Linked DNA regions of Homo sapiens: regions 2, 3, 4, 5 and 6 are each linked to region 1. The links are contacts of gene promoters, found by promoter capture Hi-C in blood cells and fetal thymus (Javierre and others, 2016). All regions are on one chromosome and are shown on one strand. Each heading gives the region's core, a stretch centred on a gene start or on the middle of the fragment in contact. The rest is flanking DNA. Distances are from core to core; before and after follow the strand shown.

Region 1 (5,197 bases), core at 1,991-4,490:
ACCAGCCTGGCCAATGTGGTGAAACCCCAACTCTACTAGAAATACAATTAGCTGGTCATGGTGGTGTGCGCCTGTAATCCCAGCTACTTGGGAGGCTGAGCCTGGAGAATCACTTGAACTAAGGAAGTGGAGGTTGCAGTGAGCCAAGATCACACCATTGCACCCCAGCCTGGGCATCGCAGCGAGACTGTCTCAAAAAAAAAAAAACAAAACAAAAAACTTGATAGCCATTACAAAAACTTCAAGCAAGGAAGAAGTACAATCAGCCCTCCATATCTGTGAGTTCCACATCCATGGATGCAATCAACCACCAGTGGAAAATATTTGAAAAAGAGCTGCATCTGTACTGAACATGTATAGACTCTTTTCCCTTGTCATTATTCCCTAATAATACAGTATAACAACTACTTGCATAGCTTTTACATCATATTAGGTGTTATAAATAATATAGAGATATAAAGTATACAGGAGGATGTGTGTAGGTTATATGCAAATACTATGTCATTTTATATCAGGGACTTGAACATCTGTGGATTTTGGTATCCAAAGGAGGTCCTGGAACCAATCCCCTGAGGATTCCAAGAGACAACCATATTCTACTACATCACAACAGGGGCTCATTAAATATCCCAACAGGTGAATGAGTGAAAGAACAAATGAATGGGTGGTGGTCATAAGCCATAACAACAAACTGCATGCCTCAAGTCAATGGCAGTGATCCACCATCCTGACTTACCTCTTTAAAACCAAGAACTGGCCGGGCACGGTGGCTCACGCCTGTAATCCCAGCACTTTAGAAGGCCGAAGTGGGCAGATCACGAGGTCAGGAGTTCAAGACCAGCCTGGCCAACGTGGTGAAACCCAGTCTCTACTAAAGATACAAAAAAATTAGCTGTGTGTGGTGGTGCACGCCTATAATCCCAGCTACTCAGGAGGCTGACGCAGGAGAATCGCTTGAACCTAGGAGGCAGAGGCTGCAATGAGCCAAGATCACACCACTGCACTCCAGCCCAGGCAACAGAGGGAGACTCTATCTCAAAAAAAAAAAAACCATGCACAACTCAGCCTCCCACCTACAATGGAAGGTCTTGTAAGGAAGGGATAAATTGCTGACCCCTTGATCCCTCACAGGGCGTAGCACCAGGTCAGGTTTCAGTCTCATGGGACTTCCTCAGGCTTGATTCAAGGACACAGTAGTCTTTGTTCCTCAACAAGCTCTGCCCTGCGTCTGGAACATTGTCTCACATTTTGTATGGCTCACTCCTCATGGCTTGGATCTCAGATCCTCAGGAAAACCTGAAAACCAATCTAAAGTAGCCCCAGCCATGATCCCATTCATTGATTGTAATTCTCTGCAGAGCACTTGCGTGCTTGTTTACCTGTTGCTTACTGCCTGTCCCTGCCCACTAAACAATTGCTCTCTGAGGGCAAACCCCTGTCTGTCTTGCTCATCGTTGAATGCCCAGAGCACAGCAGTGCCTGGCAACAAGGACTATTTGTTAAATGAATTAATCCACCCATCAACTCTACACCTAGAAATAAACATCCTATAGGTGCTCATCCCACCACACAAAGGGCACCAAATAAACTTAATCTGCACAGGTTAGAACTGACCAACACATGTTCAAAACCCCTGTTCCCAGATGCCAAGGGCAGCAATAATCAGGGCAGGGCCAAATGGGCAGGATCGTACAGGCTTTGGGCTGAAACCTCGGCTCTGCAGCCAGCCAATCATGGGCAAGCCCTTTTCACTGTCATCCCTCACCTTCCCCTAACCCTTCTGCACCCAGACCACAGCCCTGGCAAAGCGCAGGACCTCAGGCCAGAAAAGAGAAAACTGTTTAAGGAAGCCAAAGGTTTGCAGAGAAAAGCAACAACTGGCTAACTTTTTAAAAAGTATTTGTTCAAATGGGCAACGTGGATGAGAGCTTCTTTCACAAAGTCCATGAAAGCAATTGGACTTCTTTCACGGGGAGGTTTGCTTCTAGCAGACCTTAGCGCAACGATTTAAAAAGGGTTACCGTAAGTTAAAACAGAGGTGACCCTGAAAAAGAAGGAATCAGTGTACCAAGAATCAGGCTCCTGGAAGAGCAGCAAAAATCTCTTCTTCAACCCATGTAAGCACCTGCACACAGATAAAGAGCACTCAACACCTCACCGAGGAAGACACTCTCCAGTCTTCCTCCTCTCCAACACTTCTTCCACACCATACACCAGACTGAAGGCCCCATCGTCCTCCTCTATGACTCCTGTCCTTTTCAGGGTGCTGTAAGTTGGGCGCCTACCACACCTCTGTGCAGAAAGCGCATAGCAGCTGCTCCCATTTACTGAGTCATACTCCATGCCCGAGTCAGACATCATCTCATTTAATTCTCACCACAACCTTGAGGATACGCATGGGCAGATGAGGAAATTGAGGCAAAGAGAAGTCAAAATCAGCCGGTAAATCAGGGGCATAAATAGAACCGTGCCCTTAACCACGGGCTATACCGCCTTTAAACCGTGCCCTTAACCACTGGCTATACCGCCTTCTAGATATCAACTTCTGAAAGGCAGGTGCCCAGTCTTGGCTCTGGGCAACCCCGCGAGCAACCCATGTTAGCTGAATGAGACTGAACCGCTGACAGCGAACAGGCTTGGGGAGTGACAAGGGGCGGCCCAGCCTCCGGAAATGGTCAGTTTAAAATGCTGCTCAGCTGGGGGCGGGGGCGTTGAGAGAGGGGTTTAACTGCACAGAAATGCCATCTGGCATCATTCCGCCAAACAACCGGGTTGGTTTCGGGCTTCCTGCGCGTCCAAGTCAACACTAATCCTCACAGGCACAAGGTGCCAAGCAGCCGGGAGCGGAGGGAACGGGGCTATGCTCTAGGAAGCTGAGGGCCTAGGTGGAAAGGGTGGGAGGCATCTCGGGCCCGAGAACCAAGGCAGGCGACCTCGCCACTTGGAAGAGGTGACCCTCATATGCCCAGGTAGCCAGGGGCTGGGGTGGGGAGTCACGACCCTGGTCCGGAGTCGACAGGGACGGAGCAGAGGACCGGGGAAAAAATCGCGAACCACCCCCCAATCCCCACGCCCACGCGCACTCACTCGACTGCGCCACGTCCCCTGAAGGCTGCTCCGATCCAAGTCCGGTGGTATCCCTAGGTAAGGCCCCGCTTGCCCAGACCCACTTGGCTCCGGGCCTTCGGGACTCACCGCACGGGAGGAGCAACCAGGCGGCGCAGCGCGGGCGAAAACTATGATTTTCAAAACTGAAGGCTCAGCCAATCCTCGGCAAGTTTGTCCGGGCGGTTGCAAAATTTTAAGCCAATCAAATAACAGGAAGTACCAGTCAGCCCTCCTATTGGCCATATCCACTAGCAATCTGCGGGACTAAGAGGCGGGGAAAGGAAGCGAAAGACTTTAAGCCCCCTCAGCTTCCGGGTGCTGCGGCCGCGGCCGAGAGAGGAAGTAGATCCCCGCCTGGGAGGAGCCCGCAGACCTGGAACTACGAGTCCCGGCGAGCACTGCGAAGGCCACGCGCGGCTTTCTTTCTTCTCCAAGCACGGTGGCAGTCTTCTGATCTCTGCTGCTTTTTTTTCCTCATAAAAACATGTATGTATATACTTACATTGCTGAAAGACCAGCTTTTTAATGTAACAAATTATCTAGGTACAGAAGTCATAGGTTCCTCTTCCCATGAGAAAAACATTCCTCAAAATACAAACCAAACAGCATCCCAGAGGGAGTAAAATTTCATTGTACTGAAACATATACAAATTAAGGCTACCTTGGTATATAAACAATTTAGAAATTATGATGGAATAGTTCCACCAAATCATTTACGTATAGGAATTCATGCCATTTTTTAAAGAATTGGTAGTGGGGCTCAATTCAAACAATATTATGCATCCTTACATTCAACTTAATACACTTAGCAGCTATAAGGAGTGTAACTGTAACCCCACTTCCTGAAATCTCAGGAGTAATGTTAAAAATCCAAACCCATCAAAGGCCAGGGTGTTACGGTATTTGGCTCATGAATCGAAAAGCCTAATCATTTCAATTTAATCTTTACAAGTAGAACAAGATCCAAACATGGGACGTTTTCTTATTTTTCTTTGCTTTTGTGGTTGTAATGCCCTTTTGGTTTTCTGAGCAAGCTGAATACATCTGATAAATACTACCATTGGACAAAGGATCTAAACATTGAGATGTTTTACTAAATCAAGGTTTCAAGTTGGCACAATGTTTTTACTAAGTCATATTTCAATTAGTTCATCTTTCCAATATGGAGGCGGGGGGGGAAAGACAAGGACTAATATGTCCTATAAAGAATCTCTGGCCGGCGAGATCCCGCCACTGCACTCCAGCCTGGGCGACAGAGCGAGACTCCGTCTCAAAAAAAAAAAAAAAAAAAAAAAAGAATCTCTGGCCGGGCGCGGTGGCTCACGCCTGCAATCCTAGCACTTTGGGAGGCCGAGGCGGGTGGATTGCCTGAGCTCAGGAGTTCGAGACCAGCCTGGGCAACACAGTGGAACCCTGTCTCTACTAAAATACAAAAAAAAATTAGCCGGGCGTGGTGGCTTGCACCTGTAATCCCAGCGACTCGGGAGGCTGAGACAGGAGAATCGCTTGAACCCGGGAGGCAGAGGTTGCAGTGGGCCGAGATCGCGCCATTGCACTCCAGCCTGGGCCACAAAAAGCAAAAAACTCCGTCTCAAAAAAAAAATCTCTGCCGCTTTTGAGAAGTAAAAACAAAACGCCTTGTGAATGGCAACGGAGTGTGCGTTTATCTAGAGCCTTCTGTCATCTCTTGGGCGACAGAATCCTTGGTCACCTACCCTGGTACTGGACGTTTCTTGAGAGAAGTGGTTCTCATGCAGAGGAGGTTTTATCCCACCTCCGCCCCCCACATTTGGCAGTGTGTGAATTCATTTGGGTTTGGGAGAAGGGGTTAGTGGTATTTGGTGGGTAAAGGCCAGGGATGCTGCTGAACGCCATCTAGTGCATAAGACAGTCCCCACAGCAAGGAATTACCCGGCCCCAGATACCAGAATTGCTGCTGTTGAGAAACTGCTTTAGACAAAGTCACTTTACTCTGTGAGTCAAGGTTGCTGTTACCTGTAAAATAAGGCAGTTCAATCTTGAAGAGATTTGTACATCCACGGTCAGCTACCAACAGATAGTTTACCCTGTTCCCAGGTCGTCTGTAGTA
Region 2 (5,197 bases), core at 1,569-4,068, 390 kb after region 1:
CACTCGGTCAGTACACGTACTCGGCTTCCCTTCAGACTCAGAGCTGGACTCCAGGCACTCCCTCACCTCCCCTACCCCTGCCCTGGCAGCTCTGCCTGGGACTGTCATGGTGGCCTCGACTGGCCTCCTTGCACTTGCCCCTACGCTCTCAGCTCAGCAACAGAGTGGCCCTTTTAAGATAAGTTGAGCCACATCATTTTCTTTTTAAGACCCTACAGCAACGCCCTGTCTACCCCACCTGGCTCTGGTCTCTCTGACCTGCTGCCAGCGTGTTCAGCAGCACCTGAGACAGCGTGGCCTGGCCCTTGCTCCTCTGGGCCTCTGTTCAAACGTCCTGTCACAGTGAGGTCTCTCTTGCCACCTCATCTAACAGCCAGGGCTCCCCAGGCCCCCAGCACTCCCCATCCCAGGCACCTGGCTTTATGTGGGTCCAAAGTGCCCATCCGCTCCACCATGTGCCCTATTTGCCTTGTCTATGCGCTGTCCGCCTCCTCGCTGGGCAGTGAGCACCACAGAGAGGTCCACAGCTGTATCCCCAGCACCCAAACAGGGCCAGGTACACAGTAGCCTCCCCACAGAAATGAATGAGGCAGCCTGGGAGCTGGGCACCCAGCTAGGTGCAGCGGCACCTCAGGCCACCAGAGGGAGCCAGCATCCAACTGCTAAGGCACCAGACGCTGGAGCCCACGTGACTGGGCCTGCCAGCTGTCACGGGATGACAGCTGAGATTTTATTAAGAAGCTTGGATTCTGGTGATGCTAGGAGGTTTGTCTTCACTCAGAGCATCACCTGAGTGACTATTACACACTTTCCAATGGGGAGAGACTTTGCTGAGAAAGCCACAGTGCTTGCTGGGGGGACAAAGCCGATGTACAATGGGAGAGCATGGTCCCCCACACTGCAGGTCAAGTGGTGATGGGCCAGGGTCTAGGGGCTGAGCTCCTGTGCTCGGCAGCTGTTCCCTCTCCAACCTCAGCTGAGCATGAGGCTGTAACAGTGTGGCCTTTGGAGACTGGAGGCTTGAGTTTGAACCCTTGCTGTATCACTTCCTGACCGCAAGGGCCTGGAGGTCACTCAGCCATTCTAAGCCTCAGTTTCCTCTTCTGTAAGAGCAGGTGGTGACAGCTACTTCACAAGGCTGGTGTGAGATCAAGGGTCCAAGATGCAGAAATGGTCTGGCCTATAATAGGTTCTTAATAACGAGTGGCTCCTCGCTTCTCCGGTGACAGGGCTGCCTCTGAGTCAGTGATGTGTGGGCCAGGAGGACCAGTCAGGGGAGCAGGGCCAGCACCCCGGATGGGAGGGCCCTGGGGCTCATCCAGGGCAGGGCTAGGGCCAAGCCAGAAGCAGGCCTGGCTCGCTGTGCTCTGCATGGGCTGAGAACTGCTGCCAGGGGAGAGGCCTGGGCCCGAGGCAGATGGGCAGCCCTTCTCCCTCTGGCCAGGCTGTTATGGACAGGCTGGGGCACTGGACTCTGGCCTCCTCCCAACACCCTGGGCTGCAGGCCTGCCTCTCTCTGCCCCACAGGCACCTGGTTCTTCCAGGCAGGGGCCTGGCTGGGCCCTCATGAGGTCTAGGGACTCTGCTCTCTCTGCAACACTAAGGCACCTAATACAAATGCCAGCACCCCTCCTGTCTGCAGAGCACCAGAGAGCCCTGCCTGCCAGTGATACCCTGGGTTCTGAAACACCCTATGGGCAGGCAGGACAGATACCACCTGTTACAGTTTAGGAAACAAAGGCTCTAAGAGCTGTCCCCACACCACCAGTGAGTAATGGAGCCTGGTGCTCATTTTGAAGAGTTCTCTGCCACAGCTGGGACTCCCAGGGATGCAGGCAAGAATGCCAGGCACATGCAGCTGACAAAGATGGGAAGGGGGCATGAGGTGCTCTAGTCCTCTCTGATCAGTCGCTGGAGGGATGGTGAGAATAAGGCCCCGAGAGCCACCCAGCTTTCTGAGGACAGGGAGGGCGCTGCAGAGTGGGTGTGGCTGCTGTGGGTCCCAAGGGCAGGGGTGTCAAGGAAAGAAGCTGCTGCCCAGCATGCCAGCCTTTCCAGAACGGGAGCCCAGGGAACTGTCCTCCTTCTGCCTGGCATGAGCTGAGGGCGGAGACACCCAGGACAGGGAGGGGTTCCTCCTGGAGCAGGCGCCCTTCTCTGGCCCACTTAGGAATGCAGAGTCCACCCAGCCCCCAAGCGGTGGGCTGAGCGCAGAGCTAGGCTGCAGGCCAGGTCTGGGGCTAAGGCCTTTCCTAGATCCTATGAAGAAGGTTGGAGCCTTAACTAACAGGCCTTCTTGGTGCCTTTTCAAAGACCTCTATGGATTGGGCCTCTCTACTAGGAAAGTCCTTTCTTCTAGAAAGGCAGAGCACATGAGGGGAGCCGAGAGAAGGGAAGATGTGGGCAGAAGGGAATGGCTGAGGGGGCAGAGAGAGAACGCCAGAAGGGGAGGGGAGGCAGCAGTGTGGGTGTTATGCAATATCTCATCTAGCCCTCTCCAAAAAATTCCACGAGGTATGTATCAACATCTCCACTTCGCAGATAAAGAAACTGAGGCTCAGAGAGGTGGACCCACTTGCCCCAGGCTGCAAGTGACAACATCTGGATTCGAACCCATAACTGTGTGACTCCGAAGCCTACAACTTCACTGCTCAGGGATAACACAGAACTAGAAAGGTTGAGGCCCAGAGAAGGTGTAGAAAAGAAGCCATTCAGGGCAAAGCAGTAGGCGCAGCCCGGTAGCCCTTCCTCACACACCACCCGGGAGGAGAGGTGCAATCGCTGGGGGATGGGACAGGGGTACTCACGAGCAGGACCGAGCCAGTTGGCAGAGGCCGCAGGCGGGCTTCCGCATCAGGTACATGGGCCACCCGTAGGCAGCCAGGGCAAAGAGCATGTAGTAGCAGACCTCTTTGTAGCGGAGCATCTCTTGCTAGAAGAGAGGAGGCAGAGGGCGGTCACCTCCTGCCCTTCCTGCCTACAGCCTCAGGGCCCAGCAGTTCCCCAGGGTGGGAGCCTGCGGACCCAACCCCTGGCAGGGAGGGGTTGCTGGTCCCCTGTTGAGGTGTGGGGCCCAGGCCTTGGAGGAAGGACACTCCTCCAGGTGATAATTGCATTTCCCTAATTATCTCCATGCAACCAGGACACGAATCCTCAGAGACCTGTCCTGTTGCTCCAGTCTCAGAATTAATGATTTGGGGACAGAAAATCACTTGGTCCATTTCCTTGCCTGTTTTCCAGAGAAGGGAAGAGTTGAGGGATGTGAGTAGTAATCCCCCCACCTCGGCAATCAGCCCTGAGAAGGGCCCTTGATGCTGGGAAAATGTAGCCCTGAGAGGCCCCAGCCCTCCAGCTGGGCGGCGTGTGTGGGCCTTGGGCAACAGGGCAGCCACGCTAGGCCAGGAGACCAATCACCAAATCTCTGGCCCTTGGGTTCTTTGACTGCAAATATTGGGAGCCTTCAACTTGACTCAGCCAGCTGCAGGCTCCCAGGGCTCCGGGCAGGGGCTGCGTTGGTGGGAGACTGGGATCTCTTGGGAGAAAGGCACCAGTTTGAAAGCCAGTGTGTCTGAGGCCCAGCAGCCACTGTTGATGCTGAGGAGGTTATTGGCTGCTGGGGTGGAGGGAGGAAGAGGCAGGGGTGCCCCAGCAAAGTGTCTGCCAGCTTCCAGTCTTTCCCGAGTGCCCCAGGCACCGGGAGAGGGAATTAGTCACCTTGTAAAAGTTAAGGAGGGTGGTTAGTCACCTTGTGAAGTGAAATAGGTGGCACCTTGATCAGGGCCCGGAGGGGTGGAAACATCCCTGGCCAGCTCAGCTGCTCTTCAGGAACGAGAGTGGAGAGGTAATTATCCTCTCCCTGTCAGAAGCTCCCTGCAGCCCTGGGGGCGGGGTGGGCCCTGGCAGCCTCTGCCAGGTGGCAGGTGTGACCCTGGCACCTCGATGGGAGTCACTTGATGGGAGTCACAGCTGCCTGCCCTCCCCGCTCCCTGTGAGGAGTGGGAGGGAGAAGGTGGTGAGAACAGCCAGGGCAGAGCCTGGCAAGCAGAAATGGGCTGGTTTGGGGCACTTACTATGGATGTGGCTATTTTTAGAGAGGATACAAATGCCTGCTTTAGTGGGGAGTAGGGACAGGCAGGGAGGACTGAGGCTTTTCTAGAGGACTGAGTGTTGGTTTTTTTTTTTTCTTCTTTTTAAGGGACAGTGCAGCTGGAGTGCAGTGGCAATCATAGCTCACTGCAGCCCTGATCTCCTGGGCTCAAGCAATCCTCCTACCTCAGCCTCCCAAGTAGCTGGGGTCACAGGCATGTGCCACCATGCTTGGCTAATTTTTTTTTTTTTTGTAGAGACAGGGTCTCACTATGTTGCCCAGGCTGGTCTCAAACTCCTGGCCTCAAGCAATCCTCCCACCTCGGCCTCCCAAAGTGCTGGGATTGCAGGCACAAGGCAGCACACGTGGCCTAAAGGACTGAGATTTCTAAGAGACGGAATCCTTTCCATCAGCATCCTGGCTGGCACCGAGGCTTCCTGGCACTGTGATGGGAATGGCTCGTGTCCTCTCAGCACAGCTCTGGTAGAAGGTGTGCCTAGTGTCATTTCACAGATTCAGGATCCAGCTCAGAGGGGATGAGGGGCCTGCTGGAGGTCGCAGCGACAGGCATCAGAGCAGATGCACGCTCCAGCCATTTGCTTCCTGAGGCAGGGCCTGTTTCTCCCGGCTGCCAGCTGTGGTTTCAGCCTGGGCTGTACTGGGCCCTGGGCTGTACTGGGCCCTGGGCTGTGTGCTGGGCCCTGGGCTGGGGTTCTCCCACCATGTTACTGGCACCACCTTTCCCTATTACACACTGGATTTCTACGAAAGGCGATTGAGAAAAGGTTCCACTACTAAAAAAGCTTGGAAACCAAGTACTACGCCCATTGCGTTTCATTAACAGCAGCAGCAGCAGCAAAAATGCTAGCAGCTCACCCTGGTAAAGTGCTCTGTCATCTCAAGAGGCCAGGACCAGACACTTCTGAACTTGGTAAAGGAATTCAGGGGATTTGTCTGTCGAACCGGTGTGAAGTGGGTGGTTCTCGTGAGGGGCATGATCTGAGCAGAGAGGCTCTCTGGAGAGCCGGGGGGAGACCGGGCAGGGGCAATGTGGCTGGCACTGCAAGGGCAGCTGGGAGGAGTTTGCTTAGGTCATTGTGGCAGAGTGGG
Region 3 (5,197 bases), core at 752-3,251, 370 kb after region 1:
AGGAGGGAGCCAGGGAGTCCAGGCCAGCCAGGCCCACCCCTCTGCTCTCTGTCAGGGCCCAGCGTCCTGGGGCAGGCAGTGTGGAGGTCAAGGGAGCCTGGCCTGCGGGTCCTCTGGGTACCTAGCAGGCTCAAGGCACTCCAGACAGTAACCCAAGCAAGCACGAATGTCTGGTCCCCTCTTCCCTGAAGGTCTCAAACCGCGTCAGGCCCCTCGAGAGCTCCTATGGATCAACAGTGTCTGGGGAGAGCCAGAGCCCCGGGACAGATGCAGGGCTGCCTAAGACCCTCAGATGGCCCACCTGATGCAGAGTCAACCATTCAATCTAGTCCAAGCCTGAACTCTTGGGTTCTGGGTCTGTGGGGTGTCCAGAATCCTGGAGTGGGATGACTGAGGCTTAGGGGTGCCCCTGCCTGGGCTGCTCAGCCAGCAGGTGTGAACAAGGGTTCCTGCCTCCCAAGTCACAGAGGGAGAGAAACTGAGGCACCGGAAGACCTGCTTCTCTCCTCCACAGGACTCCACAGGAATCTGGGGCTTGAAACTTGGGCCTTGGTTCCCTGCCCTGTAGCCCTGATAGGTTCACACATGAAGGGAAGGTTCTCAATGCACCAAGGAGCAGGATGTGGCCTTAGGGACTAGAGGGAGCTCGGGGCAGGGGCTGGGCTCGCTGCATTGGTAGACAGGGGCACAAAAGGGGGCCAGAGGGTCTGGCTAGATGTTCCAGGGAGGTTCTGAGAAGCGGAGTGGGCTGGGAGGCAGTCAGCCAGAACTTCCCCTCCCCCTCCCACTGCGGTCCCATCCCTCCAGAACCCAGCACCAGGAGGAGTGGTGGCCCTGCAGGAGGGGCAGGGGTCGTCCAGGAAAAGACAGGGAGTTGGTTAGATGGAGGAGCAGACCTCCAAAACCAATGTAGGGGTGGGGGCAGAAGAAGATATTATGGGGTGTATGTCAATTCCACCCCAGAGGGCTCCTTTCGGTCAAGTGGGGGTGAGGTCACTCTTTGAGGGGGCGAGGTCAGAGAGGCACAGCTCCAGGGTTGGGGGGACATAGTGCTGAGGAGCCTCAGAGGGCTGGTGGGATGCAGTTCACAGCACTAGAAGGGTCTCAGAGAGCAGAGGTGACCGGTGGCAGGGATGTCAGCTTCAAGAAGGTTCCAGCCCCAGGAGAGCATGCTAGGGAGGGGGGTCCCAGCCCCAAACAGGAGAGCAGTCACTAGGCAGCATTGTGGAAAGCAGGTGGCAGTCTCCAAGGGGATCCAGGCTCGAAAGTGGTCCTACCCTCATGGAAGCACAGTGGGGAGGTCCCAGCTCCTAGAAGTCATGGGGGATGGCGCCAACCAGAAGGGCACACAGGGGGTCTTGGTCTCTAGGCGGGGGTCACAGATTCTGGGAAGCAGGCTGGGGTCCAGCCTCAAGAGGTACGGAAGGTCCTAGAAGGCACACCGGGGGTCTGGGCCTTGAATGGGGTTGTATCCCGCTTGGGGTTCTGGGGAAGCAAAGTAGAGGGTCCCCAGACTCGGGAAGTTTGCTGGGGGCGAGAGTGTCACAATTTAGGGAAAGTTCCGGGTCCTGGAAGGCTCAAAGGAGTCCGGACCTGGAAGGGGACACAGTCCCAAGGAAGCTGCGAGTTGAGGAGCGGGGAGGGGGAGCCCAACTTCAGCGGCGGTGGGTGGTAACCGCTGGGGGACTCCCAGCCCCGGGAGCCTGTCTTGGCGGGCTGGTGCCAGCCTGAAGGAGGGTCCCAGCCAGAGGAGGCGGAAACACAGCGAGGAGCCCCAGTTCCCGGGGAGATCAGCCGGGGGTTCCCAGCGCCAGAGGGTCGCCGCCGCCAGCCCGCGGTCTCTCACCTTCGAAGAAGCGCTGCAGCGCCTCCGTCTCGTCCACCACCTCCATGTCCCGCCTGCCCGGCGCACACTCCAGCCGCGGCCCCGCTACAGCCCGGCCCGGGGGCGCGGCATCGCCGGCGCGGCCCGCGCGACAGTCCCGGCTGGGCTCCGGCTACGGTCCCGCCCGGTCCGCCGCCGCGCTTGCCCCCCGCGCGTCCCTGGCCCGGCCCCTGCCCGCCCCACGCGCCCCGCCCGCCGCGCCCAGCGCCCCCTGCCGGCCCGCGCCGCGCCCAGCCCGGCCGCGGGCACCACGCTCCCGACTCCTGCAGGCGGCGCTCAGCGCTGGGCAGTCCTAGGCTTGCGGGGCGCGGGGCCGTCCCGGGTCGGGGGACGCGAGACCGTCCCAGGCTTGAGGGGCGCGGGGCCTTCCCGGGTCGGGGTGGGGGCGAAGGGCCGCTTGGCCTCTGTGGGGTCGGGACTGGAAGGGTGTGCCCTCGCCGTCCTCGCCTTCGTCTTGCACGGGACAAGATGTCACGATTCCGAATCCAAACCTCAGAGACAGCCCCCATCCCTCTCGTTAGCCACCCACACACCCCGCTCAGCAACAATAACAACCTGCATTTAGGGAACGTGTGTTATGTGCCAGGCCACACAGGCATTATCTCATGTACTCCTCACAGGCACCTTATCAAGGAGATGCTGTTGTTACCTGCATTTTACAGATGGGGAAACTGAGGCTCAATGCATTAAGGACTGCCAGGAAGCCCTGTCCTGTGGCTGTGATGATGGAAATGTTCCCTGTGTTGTTCAGTATGGTAGTCACTGGCCACAAGTGAGCACTGGAAATGTGCCTATTGAGACTGAGGAACTGATTTTTTCATTTTGTTTAATTGTAATTAAACAGTTACGTGTGGCTGTGGTATTGGACAATGCAGGTCTAAAAGCTCCTTTTTTTTTTGAGATGGAGTTCGGCTCTGTCGCCCAGGCTGGAGTGCAATGGCGCGATCTCAGCTCACTGCAACATCTGCCTCCTCGGTTCAAGCGATTCTCCTGCCTCAGCCTCCCCAGTAACTGGGATTACAGGCGCCACCACGCTGGGCTAACTTGTATTTTTAGTAGAGACGGGGTTTCCTCATGTTGGCCAGGCTGGTCTCGAACTCCTGACCTTAGGTGATCAGCCCACGTTGGCCTCCCAAACTGCTGGGATTACAGGCATGAGCCACCGCTCCCCGCCCTGCCTAAGAGTTTCAAGGTCATTAAAGTTCAGAGCCAAATCCTGGCTGCCCCGGGAATCCGAACTCTCCTTTGCCGTGGCCCTGTCTGGTATAATGAAACCTGGAGGTTCTAACTCGATATAAGTCCAGGATAAAGCGGTTGTCCTTGTGCCCCTGCCTTCACCCTTATGACTGACTGCCTCCACATCTCTGTCCTGCCCAACTTGCACAGCCTCTCGTCTCACTGATATCCCCTTCAGTTCTCCCAAATCACCCTTTCTGAAACATACATCCGATCATGTCATTCCTTTGCAAAACTAAGTTTCCCTTTGCACTCAAAACAATATCTGAATGTCTTGCTCTGGTTTCTCAGGCCCCGCCTCTACCACTGGCCTCAGCTCTTCCCCTCTCTCCATTGCTCACTGAATAACAGCCACCAAGACCTCCTTGCCATTGCTCAAACATGCAAGGCCTACACCTGCCACAGGGCCTTGGCACATGCTATTCCATCTGTTTACAATGCTTGTCTCCACATGGCTACTTCTTTGTAGCAGTTGGTCTCAGCTCAAATGTCATGTCCCCAACCAGCCTACCTAAAGCAGTTCTCCCTACCTAGGCCTTTCTTGCTCACCATGTAAAAGATTCCTATTTAGTTTCTGTTATTATCCTTCTTGCTCTAGAATGGAAGCCCTACGAGGGCAAGATATTTTTCTGTATCGGTCACTGCTATAGCTTCAACACCAAGAACATGACCTGGCACACAGTAGGTGCTCAATAAATGTGTTGAATGAATGTATGGTGGCATCTTCAAACTACCGAATCCAGTCAGGCTCCAGTGGCTCACACCTGTAATCCCAGCACTTTGGGAGGTTGAGGCAGGAGGATTGCTTGAGGCCAGGAGTTCGAGACCAGCCTGGGCAACATGGCAAGACCCTGTCTCTACAAAAAATTAAAAAATTAACTAGGCACGGTGGCACATGCCTGTGATCCCAGCTACTGGGGAGGCTGAGGAAGGAGAATCGCTTGAGCCCAGGAGGTTGAGGCTGCAGTGAGGCTGCAGTGAGCCATGTTTGCACCACTGCACTCCAGCCTGGGCGACAGAGCAAAACCCTGTCTCCAAACACAAACAAACAAACAAACAAAAATCTACAGAATCCTGGACCTCTGAAACCTTGGGAGCGGATAATTCTGGAATCCCAGACCTAGAGAATCATCCCGCTTCAGAGTGGCTCAACTTGAAGCCTCTCGGGACCCTTCAAGGCAGCACGTAAAAGCTGGAAAAACCTACCCCACCCAACCACTGTTTGACAAGCCACTAAACAGAGGCCAGAGGTGTGGGGGACTGCTGGCAGATCAAGATGCCAACGTAGCCAGCTTCGGACTCTCACCTCTGCCTTGCAGCATCCCCAGGGAGGGTGGGGCACAAGCCAGGCCACCCCGTGGGGATGGGGTGAGAGGCCTGGAAGCCGCTCCCACCCCAGCCTCCCTGTCAGTTCTCAGTGGCCAGCCGTGGGGGAGGGGCAGCCAATGCCTGAGCCCCAGATGTGGCCCAGTCAGCAGGCCCATGGTGGCCCGCCGAAAAGGGTCAATGCCACGACAGTTCTGGGGTTGGGGGAGGGGGTGCTGAGGCCGGCGGGTGCCTCACAATGAGGTTTTGTCCCTCTGGGGGCCGCTCTCAGAGCTGTTGCTCTTAGATATATAGAATGGGATTTTGCTGGAGGCCCCAGCTGTGTGTGCTGACCGCAGCTCCCTCACCGCCCCCGCAGGGGCTGGGCTGAGAGGGGGGAGAGGGGCCACACTGAGACTCCTATTCTTTTCCAGCTGATACACCCCAGAGGTTTTTCTCCCTCCGCAGACTCCCTTAAGACAATTGTTATTCTCCACCCTGCCCCTCCTCCACCCGGGGTCAGGCCTGCCTGCGGACAAAGTAGACACCCGCCTACACCACGCGATTCTGAGAAACGGATTTACATTACGAGTCGCCTGGGACCAGCCACAGAACCAGCTTCTCTACAAGCCTCCACATACCCACGGATCTTTCCTCCGTATCCCACATACTGCATAACTGACCATCATCTAAGTTCTCACCACCATCCGTTGAGCTACACATTGTCCCTGTCCTGGTCAGCAAGGGCTGGAGGTAGAAGGGAAGACTCGT
Region 4 (5,197 bases), core at 491-2,990, 350 kb after region 1:
GCTGTCATTTTCTGCTTCTGTCACTCTTCGCTTCCCCCAGACTGTGGACAGGAGCCACACCTGACTTGGTGTCTCCATCATGCCCAGCAACAGGGCTGGCTTACAGAATCACAGCAATCGCTTGAGGAATGAATGAGTTTGTCCCTGCCTGCAGTGTCACACTCAAGGTCACCCTTTATAGTGGGGGCTCTATGGAGAGCAGGCCCTGTGATCAGAAACAAGCCACAGAGGGCCTGGGCCACAAAAACCAGGGAAGGGGAGCTTCCGCACGGCACTCCTTCCCCTTCTGGTTTACAAAATGTTTTGACAGCAGAACCTTCCTTTGAACTAAACCTTTCATGGAATCTCCACATGTAAAACAGATGAAAAGACAATCGTGCAGGTTGAGTCAGAGTCGGGGGCTTGGGTCTAGGAAGAAGACTCCTCAGAAACCTGAGGGTTCCATGAGACAGCTGCAAAATCACTGGGGTCTGGGTAAGAGCACAGCCCCGGGCCCAGTCCTGGCTCTGCCCCTGGCTCATGATCTGGACGGGACATTTCCCCCATCAGAGCCTCAGTTTACCTACCTGTGCCCACCAGATAAGGTAGTTGTGAGCAATTAGCCATGGCTGTAAACCCCTCAAGGTATTGCTGGGTAAACATGTATAAATATGTTACCCCCATCTGCCCTGCAGAGCCTTCTGCCCTCCCTGGGTGCATCCCGGTCCCTACCTCCCTCTCTGGCCTGCCCGCCGCCCTGCCCACCCTGGTCCCTGTACCCCACCTTCCCACCCCATGGAGCCAGCCACCCACGTCTTACTCAGCTCCGTGCTGCTGCAGGAGCTGGTGCAGCATCTGGGACTGCTGGGTGTGGTGAAGATCAGTGGGCACCAGCCCCTGCCCCATGGCAGCGTAGTGGGGGATCGGGGGCTCGGCCTTCATGTACAGATCCCGCTGCAGGACAGGGTAGTGAGGTGGGGGTGGTGGGGGTGGCGGGGGGCCTGGCAAGTGGGCTGGAGGTGGGGGCGGATGCTCCAGGCGGGAGGGCACTCCCACGTGGCACAGTGTCTCAGGGGTTATCGTGCGCAGGAGGTGGGGCTCTGCAGGAGAGATGGGGGAGCGGGCATCTGAGACCAACCTCACTCAGGCTCCTGGGCACTGTCCTCCCCAAGGCAGAGTCTCCTGCTTCCACCCCGTCCTGAGCCAAGCCCGGGGGCTGCCCCCCACCTACCCTAGGTGGGAGGGCCGTTGGTCAGCCACCTACTAGAGGCCTGGGCAGGGAGGCACAAACCTGCCCAAGGAGGGGCAGCCTTTCACCTCATCCTAGCCACCTCCTGCCCCCAGGCTGGACCAGGAGAATCCAACCCAAATCTAAAGGTCCCCCTCCGTCCCCATCTCCTCTGAGGCCTGCTCCTCCTCTGGGCCTCAGGAAGGCGTCTCCGGAGACCCCCAGCCCAGGCCTGCCCAGTGTTCCCCTCTCCGGCAGGCAGTCCCTCTTCTGGGCTCTCAGGGGCCAGCCCCCCAGCCTGAGCGGGGAGGCCCCAGCTCCCTTTGTTCCCCAGGAGGCATTCCAGGGATGTTTTTGGTAAGATAAACAGAACTCTTGACCCCAATCCGGACTGCGGGGAGCCTGCTCCCGCGGTGGTTCTGCTCTTGGCCACCTGGGGGCCAGGGCACCCCTGAGCACCCTCTAAGGTGAGGTGGGCCCGGCCTGGGAAGCCTGCACCCAGGCTGCACCCACGGCCTTCCCCAGCCACCCACTTACCGCCGAAGGGTGCGTCCATGATGGCGCAGGCGGGCAGGCGGGTGGCATCACCGCGGGGATACTTGCTCAGAGGCAGGGCCAGGCTCCCCACCCGCCCGTGGGGAAACAATAGCCAAGCGCCAGGGAGTATTTGACCAGCGATAATCTCAGCCCGTTGGGCAGCCGCTGGCCCCCTCCCTCCTCCCCTACCTCCCTGATAAGGCCGCCCCAACTACTTGCCCAAACCCTGGAGCAGGAGGGCGGTGCCCGCTGGACTCACCATTCACCTGCTGGGGGGAGTAGGCCTCGGAGCCCGAGTCTGGGGGAGAGTCCGGCAGTGTGCTGCGAGAGCCAGGGGAAGGGGCCGGGGGGTGAGCAGCTGAGCTTCTGCCTTCCAGCTGGGCAGCTTCTCTGCGTGGTAGGGTCCCACAGCCCCCCAGAAGCTGGCGACACTGAGGTTTCGTCACATCCACCCTTAGGGGCATTTCTCCGCACCACCCACATTGGGGTGCCTGGCAGGGCCTGGGGCCGAATTGTGGGTAGGGGACCGCCCAGGATCCCCTCAGACCTACAGGGCACTTGGGGGGCAGTTACTAGTGTCCTTGATGATGGCACAGGGACTCAAAGACTCCCGCCCCAGACCGAAGGCCAGGACTTCTTCTCTCTTCCTGCACCCACTGAAGCCCCACAGCTTCCTGGAAACACAGGGCCCTAGGGGGCTGGGCCTCAGGGCATTCAGCAGGTCATGGGGGGCTGCCCCACCAGAGGCAGGTGTGGACTGGGAAGGGAGCCAGCACCACCGGGCCTGGGTTTATTTTTTTCTTGCAGGTTTCACTTTTATCAGTGTTCAGGAAAAAGAACAAACTCAACCCAAGAGGTCAACACGTCCTGCGTGAACCCTGTGCTCACCCAGCAAGTGGAAGGCTGTGGCCATATGGGATCCAGCTCTTTGGCCATCCCTGGTCCCCACATCTGGAGCAACTCCCCATTCCCATGCCCAGGGAACTGCCAGAGAGGCCATGGCCCTGTTGTGGACACAGCCCTGGGGCTGGCTCCAGAGTCCCCCTGCATCCCTGTGCCAGCCACCCACCCACCTTCGGGGCCTCATGTAGAAACCTATACAACGATTCAAGAACACAGACCCTGCAGGTTTTGTGTGAATGATACAAAAACGTGTATGGGGACTCAAACCCATACTCCTCGCCACAGCCTCAGGCCCCCTGGGCTGCCACTCCGTCCTGTACTTCCCTGACAATGGCCAGGCCTTCTGTAATGTGTTAAGGTCTTTCACACCCTGCAGTCCCTGCAGTCCCATGCCCCAAGTCCACAGCACCTTGTGTTCTCTCCTCTTAAGTTCCTCTGGCACCTGATTATTCCTCTACTTGGAGATGTACTGGTGAATACCTCTCCCCAGTTAGGCTTCAGGAGCCACTGCAGAGCCGTGTGTCTGTTTTTTTTCTTTTCTTTCTTTTTTTTTTTTTTTTGAGACAGAGTCTCGCTCTGTCACCCAGGCTGGAGTCCAGTGGCACAATCACCACTCACTGTAACCTCCACCTCCCAGGTTCAAACGATTCTTGTGCCTCAGCCTCCCAAGTAGCTGGGATTACAGGCATGCGCCACCACACCCAACTAATTTTTGTATTTTTAGTACAGACAGGGTTTCACCATATTGCCCAGGCCGGTCTCAAACTCCAGGCCTCAAGTGATCTGCCCACTTCAGCCTGCCAAAGTGCTGGGATTACAGGCATGAGCCACCGCACCTGGCCTTTTTTTTTTTTTTTTTTTTTTGAGACAGGGTCTTACTCTGTCCCTAGCAGTGGCATGATCACAGCTCACTGTAGCCTCGACCTCCCTGGCTCAAACTATTCTCTCACCTCAGCCTCTCGAGTAGCTGGGACTATAGGCACACGCCACCACACCCAGCTAATTTTTGTATTTTTTGTAGAGATGGGGTTTCATCATGTTGCAGACTGGTCTTGAACTCCTGGGCTCAAGCAATATGCCTACCTTGGCCTTCCAAAGTGCTGGGATTACAGGTGTGTGCCACCACACCCAGCCTCATGTCTGTCTTGTTTATCACCTAGACTCAGGTCTGGCCCTGGGTCCCTTCCTGGAGTGGCCCTGCCCACAGAGTCCCTGTGTGGCTCTGGACAAGCCCCTTTCCCTCTCTGAGCCTCAGTGTGCCATTAAAATCCTGACGGTAGCAGTGGCCAGGGCTCCTTGTGGGGTCTCCCAGGAGCTGGATACCCAGGAAGGCTGATGAGCTCACGCAATCATAGGCACATGATACAGCAGTGGGCACCAGCAGGCGCTTACCAAATGTTAGTTCTCCTCCCTCTGCCCCCAGGGGCCTGTAGTTTAGGAACAGCCTCACAGCCTCAAGCAAACAGTTTGCCTTCTGCAGCAAAGGTTCACCCCTGGCACCCCAAGCCTGGCCTCCACTCCCTTCTCCCCAAAAGCCAGGGAGCTCAGGAAGCACGGCCGGCCATGTGTCCATGGCCACCATGCACCCAGGGCATCCTCTGTGCCCTTGTTGCTTCCCACGATAATCTTGAGGGGTAAGCATTTGAGGGCTCACTTCACAGAAGAAACTGAGGCCATGGGTTACCGAGGCAGACGGCTGATAAATGGGGAAGCTGAAGTTGGAGCCAGGCTGTCTGAACACAGAGTTCATGCACCTAGTGTTTTAATGCTCTTCCACCCAGAGACAGGGGCCCCTACATTTGCCCTGAGCTCCCCTGCAGACCCATGCTCCCAGCCTCCCGCTGTGAGCATGTGCCCCGGGAGCTGCCCTGGAGTCTGGCTGGCCGGGTGGCTGCCTGGAACCTTTGGTCAAAGCCAGGCCTAAGGTTCAGCCCTGGGTCAGGCCCTTGGTGTGGACTCCTCAGAAAGATGGGGGGAAGGGCCTGGGTTCTGGGCCCCATGAGGCTTGCTTGGGTAGGGGGGAACTGAGGTGCCACATCTGAGCCATGGGCCAGCTCCTGTGGCCACAGTACACGTCAGCTGGATGCGTAAGTGGGTGGGCTTGGCGCGCGTGCACGGGTATGCAGGTGTTCCCATGAAGGTAAACAGTCACAGCCTCCAGTCCCGCCGCTTCCTGTCCACTCTCCACACAGCATCGAGATTTTTCTAGCACTTACGTCAGCCCTCATCACTCCCATGCTTAGAAGCTTTGTGGCTGCCCACTGCCTCAGAACAAAGCCCAGGAGTCCCCCCTTGACCTGGACTCATCCTCCCTTCCCTCACCTGCCCACGCACAGCCAGTCACCCAGCCCATCCCATGCCAGGCCAGTGTCTAGCACCTCCCAGGTCACGGCCACAGCCCTGCTCCCTGCCTGCCCCTATGCCGCTGTATCCCCCTACTCCCTGCCCTTACTCACCCTGGGGCATAGGGAGCCTTGGGCTCAGCCTTGATGGGGGGCCCGGTGCCCCCCGGGAAGGGCTTGGGGGCAGCGCCCATGCCGTTGTTGTTGT
Region 5 (5,197 bases), core at 1,330-3,829, 310 kb after region 1:
CGTGGACCCAAAGAGTGAGCAGCAGCAAGATTTATTGTGAAGAGCAAAGAACAAAGCTTCCACAGCGTGGAAGGGTACCCGAGCAGGTTGCCGCTGCTGGACGTTGGGGGGTGTGAGGGGGAGCAGCCTTTTTTTTTTTTTTTTTTTTTGAGACGGAGTCTCCCTGTCGCCCAGGCTGGAGTGCAGTGGCGCGATCTCGGCTCACTGCAGGCTCCGCCCTCCCCCGGGGTTCACGCCATTCTCCTGCCTCAGCCTCCCGAGTAGCTGGGACTACAGGCGCCCGCTACCTCGCCCGGCTAATTTTTTGTATTTTTAGTAGAGACGGGGTTTCACTGTGTTAGCCAGGATGGTCTCGATCTCCTGACCTCGTGATCCACCCGCCTTGGCCTCCCAAAGTGCTGGGATTACAGGCGTGAGCCACCGCGCCCGGCCGGGAGCAGCTTTTATTCCCTTATTTGTCCCTGCCCATGTCCTGCTGATTTGTCCATTTTATAGAGCACTGATTGGTCCATTTTACAGGGTGCTGATTGGTCCATTTTACCTCTAGCTAGCTAAAGAGCACGGATTGGTGCATTTTACAAACCTCTAGCTACAGAAAAGTTCTCCAAGTCTGCACTCGACCCAGGAAGTCCATCTGGCTTCACCTCTCACTTCAACTTGGGTACAGCCTTCTGGCGGGCAGGAGGATGGCCTTTGGTGCGAACACTGCCGGAGTCCAGGGGGCTGGCTCCCTCACCTTTCATCTTCTCCCGGCACTTGCAGGATCCCTTTGTGGCCTTCCACATCAACAAGGGCCTTGTGAAGAAGTATATGAACTCTCTCCTGATTGGAGAACTGTCTCCAGAGCAGCCCAGCTTTGAGCCCACCAAGAATGTAAGACCCTGTGTTTGCTATGTCGCAACTATTGGTTGTTGAGGGGGACAGAGAGGGGGTGGAAGGAGAGTCTAGATGGGATCACAGTCATAGTAATCACAGTCAGTAGTAGCTCTGGGGAGTCTTGAGGTCCCTGCTTCTCTTGCATAGTCATGAGGTCACAGGCCCAAGGGAGCATGGCTTTGCAACCTATGGCTCCCCCAAGGCTGCCACTACCATGGCTGCCATCATTGTTATCATCATTGTTATCATATGAGCACTTACTATGCACCAAGCATAAACTCATAACTCTTACACATTTACAGATGAGATAACAGGCTCAGGGAGGTTAAGCAACACAGCCAAGGATCACACAGTTAGTAAATGGCAGAGCAAGGACTTAGTCCCCTGAACTCTTAGGCACTATCCCATGGCACCTCCTCCTGTCATCCTCATTGTCGTGGTATCTTTGCCTAGGACTGTGGACTTCCCACAGCTACCTCAGTGGGAGGTCCTTGAGCCTGAGAGGGCCCTTGTCTCCAGTAGCATTGGGGTGCAGATGAGAAGAATAACAGCTCCTCTTCCTCTTCTGCAGAAAGAGCTGACAGATGAGTTCCGGGAGCTGCGGGCCACAGTGGAGCGGATGGGGCTCATGAAGGCCAACCATGTCTTCTTCCTGCTGTACCTGCTGCACATCTTGCTGCTGGATGGTGCAGCCTGGCTCACCCTTTGGGTCTTTGGGACGTCCTTTTTGCCCTTCCTCCTCTGTGCGGTGCTGCTCAGTGCAGTTCAGGTGAGAGCCTTTGGCTTGTCAAGTGCACAGCAATGCTCAGCATCCCTGGGGAAAGCTCCTTGGGTGTTTGAGGAAGGCCAAGAGTGCCTGCCCTCCAAGCAGGGCAGATCTGAAGGTATGCAGGAGTGAGTGCAGGAACATGCATTCTGCTGTCTTGACCTGTCTGCTCTTTAGCCACATGGACATCTTCATTTCTCTCACTGCCTTTTTAGCTGCTTCTCCAAGGGTTCTCTTCTTCCTATGCGGTTTGTTCTCTGCCACAGCCCACCTGTGCCAGGAGCCAAGTTTCTGGTTTCTTAGCAAAGCTTGGCTCCCTCCCCACCACTGACATTGCCCAATATGTTAATAATGATTGAGCGCTAATTCTTGACTGTCAGGACCCATTTGGCAAGCCTTCTGCTCATGTTTCAGTCCTTTCTGTATTCTAGATGTCAGTCCATCATAAGTCATGAGCTTCAGGCCAGGTGTGGTGACTCATGTCTGTAATCCTAGCACTTTGGGAGGCCAAGGTGGCCGGATCACTTGATCTCAGTTCAAGACCAGCCTGGCCAACGTGGTGAAACCTCTACTAAAAATACAAAAAGGCCAGGCACAGTGGCTCACGCCTGTAATACCAGTACCTTGGGAGGCCAAGATGGGCAGATCATTTGAGGTGAGGAGTTCAAGACCACCTGGCCAACATGGTGAAACCCCGTCTCTATTAAAATACAACAGTTAGCTGGGAGTGGTGGTGGGTGCCTGTAATCCCAGCTACATGGGAGGCTGAGGCAGGAGAATTGCTTGAACCTGGGAAGCGAAGGTTGCAGTGAGCCGAGTTGGCACCATTGCACTCCAGCCTGGGCAACAGAGCGACACTCTCAAAACAGGCCAGGTATGGTGGCTCACGCCTGTTATCCCAGCAGTTTGGGAGGCCAAGGTGGGCAGATCACCTGAGGTCAGGAGTTCGAGACCAGCCTGGCTAACATGGTGAAACCTCGACTCTTACTAAAAATACAAAAAAATCAGCCAGGCTTGGTGGCGGGCACCTGTAATCCCAGCTACTTGGGAGGCTGAGGCAGGAGAATTACTTGAACCCAGGAGGCGGAGGTTGCAGTGATCTGAAACCGCACCATTGCACTCCAGCCTGGGCAACAAGAACAAAACTGTCTCAAAAAAAAAAAGTCATGAGCTTCGGAGCTGGCGAAACAGAAGAACAGAGAAGGGATGGTGATTTGCCCCAACTCACGTGTGAGTCAGTGGCAGAGGCAGAACTAGGACCCATGTTTCCTGACTCCTGAGGTGCATCACAGGCCTTGGCAGATGAAGGAAGTGGGAGAGGCTGAAGGAGGCATCGAGGTCAGTGAAGGCGACACTGGGGCTGGTGGGCTGCTCTCAGTGTTGACTCTTCTCACCTAGGCCCAGGCTGGCTGGCTGCAGCATGACTTTGGGCACCTGTCGGTCTTCAGCACCTCAAAGTGGAACCATCTGCTACATCATTTTGTGATTGGCCACCTGAAGGTCAGTGGGATGGGGAGGAGCTCTCTAAAACTCCAGGCAATGAAGGGCTGCCTTGGGGGAAGCTTTTCATACTCGTGTCCCTGCTTTTCTGTAGGGGGCCCCCGCCAGTTGGTGGAACCACATGCACTTCCAGCACCATGCCAAGCCCAACTGCTTCCGCAAAGACCCAGACATCAACATGCATCCCTTCTTCTTTGCCTTGGGGAAGATCCTCTCTGTGGAGGTGCGTGGAGGTATCAGTGGAAAGGTCTTGGGGAATAGGAGGCAGCCAACATAGGGGAGTTGGGGAAGATGCCCACGATGTTGTCAGTGTGGGCAAGACACTGGGGCTGGGCTGGCTGGGGCTTTTGCCATTTTGGAAGTTCTGGAAGGCAACAGGCAATAGATGGGGGCTGCCCAGGAGGGAGTCACCATCCTCCCTAGAGAGTTCAGTCAGCAAACCGTTACTGCATAAAAGGCACCTCATTTTGCAAAGGATCCAGCGGATGACCAGAAGGATCCAAATGATGAGATAGCCTATCCTTGAAGGTGCTGATGGCACCTCCTGGAGGTGCTTTTTTGACACTCTTGCCCCAGGCAAGTATTCCCCTTGCACTTTGTATTTCTCTCCCACACTTAGGTATCCTTCTTGTCACAGTCTTCTCTGTCCAGGGCTGGACTGTCTTACTCTTCTTTCATGTCCAATATCTGGAACATTCATTCACTGAGTACTTCTTCCCACCCTGCTGATCCCCAGCCTGATTTCCTGGGTGGTCAGCGTTGGGTTTGAGATGTCGTCTGAAGTTGTAAGCAGAAATAATGTAGCTGCTGAAGGAATAATGCCTGGGGGTGGAGATCTGGTGAGCTTTTAGTGAGCATTAGGCAATGGAAGGTTCTAAAAGGCCAGCAGAATTCTTTGAAAAGTTCATTTAAAGCCCTTTGTCCCAAGGCTGTAGGCTGCAGAGTTCTTCCAGGTCCACCTCCTCCACTTTGTGACATTTCAGCTTGCGAGGAATTAAATTGTCGTTAAAACACATTTCAGTTCTAGGCATGAGTTCAAGGTAGCCTGGCGTTCCTCTCGCCCCTGGCCATGAGAACTTTGAAAGGGCTTTGGCAGCACTGGTTGGCCTGGCATGAGGAGCTCATAGCTTGAGGCTCATGCCCCACCTGTCCATAATGTTCTTATTTTCCCATCATGAGCATGGACTTGGGTTTGTTACATGTCCGATACCATTATGGTCAGTACTATGCAGATGACGAAGCAGCCCTGTCCCCCGTCTGACTCCCATGGCTGCTTCAAGGGCAGTGTGGTTATTTGCTGGGCAGTGGCATGGGGCTTGTGCATTTCTACTGTCACTACAGAGGGTTTAAAAAAAAGACATGGGCAGGTTAAGTGGAAGGGAACAGTCTCACACCACTACCTTTATTGCTTCTTGGTACTTGGGTTTTCAGGAAATTCCTATCAGCAGACATCAAAAACAGAGAATGAAGGGACGCAGTTGGCATGTGCCTGTGGTCCCAGCTACTTGGGAGGCTGAGGTGGGAGCATCGCTTGAGCCCAGGAGGTGAAGGCTGCAGTGAGTATGATCACGCCACTGCACTCCAGCCTGGGTAACAGCGCAACCCTGTGTGTAAAAATAATAATTTTTTAAAAAGATTAAAACCAAAAAAAAATTGTAAACAGAGTTCAACGTAACTTACAGATTAAAAACAGTAAAATATGACAGAAACTGAGAGGTAGTCATGATCAGATATGGCCTCCTTCGGGTGCCGACATCTGAACTGAGACCTGAATGATGAAAAGGGCCAACACTGCAAAAATTCAGGGAAGGAACATTTGGAACAGAGAGAACAGTCAAGTACAGAGGCTCCCGGATGTTCAGGGACAGTAAGCAATGAGAGAATGAGAAGACCAGAAAACTAGGGAGGGGCCAGATCATGTAGGGCCTTAGAAAGCCATGGTAAGGGTGTGGTAAGAAGTTTGGGTTTTATTCCAATAGCAATGGGGAGTCACAGGAGGGTTTCTGGTGGGTACAGCAATCTGCTTTGCACTTTAAAAGGCTTGCTCTGGCTGGA
Region 6 (5,197 bases), core at 1,832-4,331, 280 kb after region 1:
TCTCGGCTCACTGCAACCTCCACCTCCCTGGTTCAAGTGATTCTCCTGTCTTAGCCTCCCGAGCACCCTCGCCTGGCTAATTTTTGTTTTTTTAGTAGAGACAGGGTTTCACCATGTTGGCCAGGCTGGTCTTGAACTCCTGACCTTAAGTGATCTACCTGCGTCACCCTCCCAAAGTGCTGGGATTACAGGCATGAGCCACCACACCCGGCCAAGCCACCTCGCCCGGTCTTAACTAATTTCTAATTACATTCAACTGAAGCAAAAGTATAATAAGTTCTGTTTTGGTATAAATAAAGCATTTACACTTAGAATGTTATGACTTTTAATACATCAACTTCTTCATTGTTAAATATTTTTTTAACTACTTTAATCCTCTGGAAAAAAAATCAACCATTAAAAAATGACACACGAACATGTTTAGAGGGTTGCATGTTTTTCCATTTCCCTCAGTTCATCCTGATCTTTATTTAAAATTTTGATATTTTGTTCATTGTGGATTTTTTTGCATTAATTTTGATTTTTTTAAAAACATATTGCAGGCCGGGCGTGGTGGCTCATGCCTGTAATCTCAGCACTTTGGGAGGCCAAGGCAGGTGGATCACCTTAGGTCAGGAGTTCAAGACCAGCCTGGACAACATGGAGAAACCCCATCTCTACTAAAAATACAAAAAAATTAGCTGGGCATAGTGGCGCACACCTGTAATCCCAGCTACTCGGGAGGCTGAGGCAGGAGAATCGCTTGAACCCGGGAGACGGAGGTTTCAGTGAGTTGAGATCACGCCATTGCACTCCAGCCTGGGCGACAAGAGTGAAACTCCATCTCAAAAAACAAAACAAAACCACATTGCATTAAAACATCATTTATCTTGATAACTGAATTTGTCTGGTGTCCCCTTAGAATTTGTCTGGTGTCCCCTTAGATTTTATACCCTAAGCGAGTGCCTTACTTGTTTCACCCTAATCCCAGCCCTGGTGGCCTGAGATGAGGCTGCAGAAAGTCTGGTGATGTCCATTTCCAGATGCAGCGCCCAGATGGCACTGGGCCTTTCAGCTTGCATTTATTTATTTAGAGACAGTGTCTCACTCTGTCACCCATGCTGGAATGTAGTGGCACCATCACAGCTCACCGCAGCCTTCAAATCCCAGGCTCAAGCCATCCTCCGGCCTCAGCCTCCCCAGTAGCTGGGACTACAAGCATGCACCACCATCCCCGGCTAATTCTTTTATTTTTAGTAGAGACAGGGTCTTGCTATGTGGCCCAGGCTGGTCTCAAACTCTTGGCTTCAAGCAATCCTCCTGCCTTGACCTCCCAAAGCGCTGAGGTTATAGGCGTGAGCCACTGTGCCTGGCTGAAGTTTGCATTTCATCCTAAGTACAGTGCTGAACTACGAAAGAGTTTTAACCTCAGAATCGTCTTTGTAAAAGATCACACTTTGGAAGAAATGTCCACTGGGCATGACACGGGCTGAAGGCAAACAGGTCAGGATGTGAAGAACTCCCATTAAATCCCATTAGCAGTGCAGCCAACAGGAAGAAGGGGGTCCCAGCCTCTCACAGCACCTGGTAACCTACTCACAGGTCTTTCCAGCCTGTGCTAAGACATCTGAGTTGGCGAGGCCCTTGAGGACCTCCCTGTAGCCAGTCCCCTTTTTCCCAGTGATGGGAAGAGACACAGACCTACAAGATTTGTCCCCATGGCTGTGCACCTGCCGAGTGCTAGAGCCAATTTCAGGCAAGCTTGACCTCCGTGCTCTGGGGCACCCCTGAGTGAGCCACATGTCCATGTCCTTGGCCTGTCTCTGTGACACAGCACCAAGGACACAGCCAGTGGGGGCTGGTGGGCCATGAGTGGAGCCCACATCCCCAAGCCCAAGGACCCTGTTTGCTGTCATCCACGTTCTACATGGAGACCAGTCCTCTGTCCTGGCCCCGTCTCCCGCCTGACGCAACAGCCGTGCTCTGGGGCCCCTCAAAGACTGAGGGCAATTGGACAGGAACAATCCCCCCTGCCCGGCCCCTGCCCAGAATCTGGAAGCAGGACACAGCCCATCTTTGTTAAGTGTGTGGGGGCTAACATGGGTCAGGAGTTAAATGTTACTTTGCCATACTGAGGAGGGTTTGATCCAACAGAGAAGAGTATAAAATGAAACAAAGCACTCCACTATGTGCACCCTCTCCCTTTGCCCCTGAGATTCTGGACAGAGACCAGGTTCTCAGGCCGCTTCAGGCTCAGGGCCAGGCAAGCTGCTCGCTGCGAAACTGGTGACCAGCTCAGGGGTGGTTGGCCACCAGTGAGATCTGCAGCCGGCAAGCCAAGGGCCCCGTTGCGGTCTGGGTGGAAGAGGGGATAAGCTACACCCCACATGTAGCTCGTCCCTTGCCAGGGTGTGGAGGGATGGATTCTTTAGGACCCAGCTTTTCTCAGGAAGCAGGTACTGTTGGGTCAGGCTGGGATGGGGATAGTCTATTTCAGAGAGCAAGTTGGCAAAGACTCATTTTCAAAACTGAGGAGATAACGCCTGTCAGATCAGAACAAGGCAGTTGGCAATTCCAGCTTGTCTTTCTACAAACATGCTGAGACTCTGTGGTCTGCTTCCTTATCTAGGGGGAGGTGAGAGTGGAACTTCCTTAACTCCTGCACTTCTAATGACTTTTGTCCTTTGGGCCAGCTGATCATTCCGTAGTTTGGTGTCCCCTATCTGAGGCCTTATAGGATGACTTTTACTTTTTGTACCCCGCTTATTTCCAAAGAGTATTTGAAGTGGCTTGAGATAAAAGACTCATATATAACGGAAGGCTAAAATAAAGATAAAAGCATAAATGCCAGATGAGGAAGGAGAGAATGGGGGCACCAAAAACACAGACTAAAGATAGTTGCTGTTTCAAATGCTGCTTTGTACCTCTTGGCTTCTGAGGGGAAGAGAGGAGCACAATGTGTTTCTTTTTCTTTTTTTTTTTTGAGAGATGGGGGGGGGTCTCACTATGTTGCCCAGGCTGGTCTCGAACTCCTGGGCTCAAGCAATTCTCCTGCCTCAGCCTCCCAGGTGGCTGGGATTACAGGTGCATGCCACCACACCCAGCACAACGTATTAAAGAGCTCACATCCCCAGTGAAAGGAAGCATACCAACTCATCAAAAAAGATGCTACAGGCCGGATGCGGTGGCTCACACCTGTAATCCCAGCACTTTGGGAGGCCAAGGCAGGTAGATCACAAGGTCAGAAGTTTGATACCGGCCTGACCAACATAGCAAAACCCCATCTCTACTAAAAATACAAAAATTAGTCAGGCATGGTGGCGAGTGCCTGTAATCCCAGCTACTCGGGAGGCTGAGGCAGGAGAATTGCTTGAACCCGGAGGTGGAGGTTGCAGTGACCCAAGATCACACCATTGCTTCCAGCTTGGGTGACAAGAGCAGGACTCTGTCTCAAAAAAAAAAAAAAATACTGCTACTTTACTGTCCCCAAACAAAAACAGATTTGTTAGATGAGTCCTTAGCTAAGGAACATCAAAAAATACAATCCGCTGAGCCAAAAGACAAGAAAGGTGTGTGCCTGTCTTCATAATGAGTAGTACACCATGGCTTTGTGGTTCGGACCTGATCCAGAGACAGGGCTCAGGAAGTCAGCAGAATGGAGAGTCACCATGGCCCTCAGCATAGGCACACCTGCCTTGTCACCCTGTAGCCTCAGAGCACTGAGCAGAGAGGAATCCTGGTCCCTCTGTCTCAACTGCTGTCCAACAGGACAGATGCCCAGGGCTGCTGACACTTACCTTTAAGTGGCCAATGACGAATTTGTGGACAAGGTGGTTCCACTTGGGTTTTCTGTAGACAGACAGGTGGCCATAATCATGTTGCAGCCATCCAGCTTGGGCCTGGGGAGAGAGGGTCACACGTGCTGTCACAGCCTCAGCAAACAGGCACCAGGCCTCTGTCAGCTAGGGGAAGTGAGGGTGTCACGCCTCACCTGAGAGGTAGCAAGGACAAAGGCCGTGATGAGGGTAGGAATCCAGCCATTGCCAAAGTAAAAGACAGTGAACCATGCAATGCTCTCCAGGGCGATGATGTGGGCCAGGAGGAGGAGGAAGAACACGTGGTTGGTCTTGAACAGGTTCATGTCCTCAGCCGTCTTCCTCAGGGCCCGGAAGTCCTCAGTGATCTTTGACTGTTGACCAAGAGCACAGGGAAAGGAGTCAGCCACCAGCCACTCTGGAGGGAACATATGTCTCGAGCTGCCATTTCAACAGCCAATGCACAACCCAGAGAAGCTGTGGCAAGAGGGGGCCAAGCCACAAGCCTCGACCCTCCAGGAGTCCCTACAATAGCTGCTGTTACCACATGCCCCACACAGCCCTGGGGCCTGTATATTTGTCACAGCTAGGTAAGAGTGACAGAGAAAGGCTTTGACTCAAAAGCTTGCATTTTATACACCCTGTGTTCATAGCTCTATTCACATCAGGAAAAAGGTAGAAACAACACAAAGATCTCGTGATGGATGAATGGATCAGCAACACGTGGTCTATCCATGCAATGGAATATTACTCAGCCTTGAAAAGGGAGGAAATTCTGACACATGCTACAATGTGAGTGAACTTTGAAGACATCATGCTAAGGGAAACAGGCCAGTCACCAAAGGACAAATATTGTATGATTCCATATACAGGAGGTCCTTGGAGAGGCCAAATTCAGAGACAGAAAGTAGAATGGTGCCTGCCAGGGGCTGAGAGGTGGGAGAATGAGGAGTGAGTGCTTAATGGATGTGGAATTTCAATTTGGGGAAGATGAGAACTGGATGGTGGTGATGGTTACATAACAATGTAAATGTGCTTATTTGATGCCACTGAACTGTACACGTCAAATGACCAAAATGGTTGACCACACTTTTTTAAAAAAGAAAACTTTAATCCCAGCACTTTGGGTGGCCGAGGCAGGCAGATCACCTGAGGTCAGGAGTTCGAGACCAGCCTGGCCAACATAGTGAAACTCCATCTCTACTAAAAATACAAAAATTAGCCAGGCATGATGATGGGCACCTGTAATCCCAGCTACATGGGAGGCTGAGGCAGGAGAACTGCTTGAACCTGGAGGCGGAGGTTGCAGTGAGCCGAGATGGTGTCACTGCACTCCAGCCTGGGTAACAAGAGCAAAACTCCATCTCAAAAAAAAAAAGAAAGAAAGAAAAGAAAAGAAAAAT

What was found. The method cuts DNA at HindIII sites, captures the fragments that hold promoters and counts their contacts. A CHiCAGO score of 5 or more calls a contact.
Region 2: a contact is called between a fragment that was not itself captured here and the fragment with the promoter of INCENP in region 1, in 1 of 17 cell types (neutrophils). The highest score is 5.0, in neutrophils.
Region 3: a contact is called between the fragment with the promoter of MYRF here and the fragment with the promoter of INCENP in region 1, in 1 of 17 cell types (neutrophils). The highest score is 7.5, in neutrophils.
Region 4: a contact is called between a fragment that was not itself captured here and the fragment with the promoter of INCENP in region 1, in 4 of 17 cell types (neutrophils, monocytes, erythroblasts and 1 more). The highest score is 9.1, in neutrophils.
Region 5: a contact is called between a fragment that was not itself captured here and the fragment with the promoter of INCENP in region 1, in 13 of 17 cell types (neutrophils, total B cells, naive CD4 T cells and 10 more). The highest score is 14.2, in neutrophils.
Region 6: a contact is called between a fragment that was not itself captured here and the fragment with the promoter of INCENP in region 1, in 1 of 17 cell types (M0 macrophages). The highest score is 5.8, in M0 macrophages.

The regions. Positions count from the first base shown.
Region 1 is chr11:62,122,054-62,127,250 of GRCh38, reverse strand. INCENP (inner centromere protein) reads right to left here and starts at 3,240. Exons shown (of 19, transcript NM_001040694.2): 1 at 3,088-3,240. It overlaps LOC124902681 (a long non-coding RNA gene), which reads left to right and starts at 3,540. Exons shown (of 2, transcript XR_007062697.1): 1 at 3,540-3,594. RefSeq lists enhancers at 2,369-2,950, 2,940-3,009, 3,540-3,629. The HindIII fragment of the contact is 13,511 bases long and covers 1-5,197 here.
Region 2 is chr11:61,729,052-61,734,248 of GRCh38, reverse strand. It overlaps DAGLA (diacylglycerol lipase alpha), which reads right to left. Exons shown (of 20, transcript NM_006133.3): 9 at 2,808-2,932. Among named protein-coding and RNA genes, the nearest start is that of MYRF, 21 kb to the left of the region's middle. The HindIII fragment of the contact is 4,149 bases long and covers 744-4,892 here.
Region 3 is chr11:61,749,440-61,754,636 of GRCh38, reverse strand. It overlaps MYRF (myelin regulatory factor), which reads right to left and starts at 2,001. Exons shown (of 27, transcript NM_001127392.3): 1 at 1,847-2,001. The coding sequence starts at 1,892. MYRF-AS1 (MYRF antisense RNA 1) reads left to right here. Exons shown (of 4, transcript NR_026882.1): 4 at 192-608. RefSeq lists silencers at 1,852-1,951, 2,072-2,211 and an enhancer at 4,889-5,197. The HindIII fragment of the contact is 15,547 bases long and covers 1-5,197 here.
Region 4 is chr11:61,766,128-61,771,324 of GRCh38, reverse strand. MYRF (myelin regulatory factor) reads right to left here. Exons shown (of 27, transcript NM_001127392.3): 3 at 5,104-5,197; 4 at 2,004-2,065; 5 at 800-1,079. Among named protein-coding and RNA genes, the nearest start is that of MYRF-AS1, 11 kb to the right of the region's middle. RefSeq lists enhancers at 2,071-2,646, 2,647-3,223. The HindIII fragment of the contact is 6,310 bases long and covers 1-4,895 here.
Region 5 is chr11:61,808,919-61,814,115 of GRCh38, reverse strand. It overlaps FADS1 (fatty acid desaturase 1), which reads left to right. Exons shown (of 12, transcript NM_013402.7): 2 at 763-873; 3 at 1,448-1,645; 4 at 3,041-3,142; 5 at 3,237-3,365. Among named protein-coding and RNA genes, the nearest start is that of MIR1908, 3.7 kb to the left of the region's middle. The HindIII fragment of the contact is 1,254 bases long and covers 1,953-3,206 here.
Region 6 is chr11:61,839,305-61,844,501 of GRCh38, reverse strand. It overlaps FADS2 (fatty acid desaturase 2), which reads right to left. Exons shown (of 12, transcript NM_004265.4): 3 at 3,971-4,168; 4 at 3,777-3,878. Among named protein-coding and RNA genes, the nearest start is that of FADS2, 14 kb to the right of the region's middle. RefSeq lists a cis regulatory region at 2,434-2,718. The HindIII fragment of the contact is 2,678 bases long and covers 1,743-4,420 here.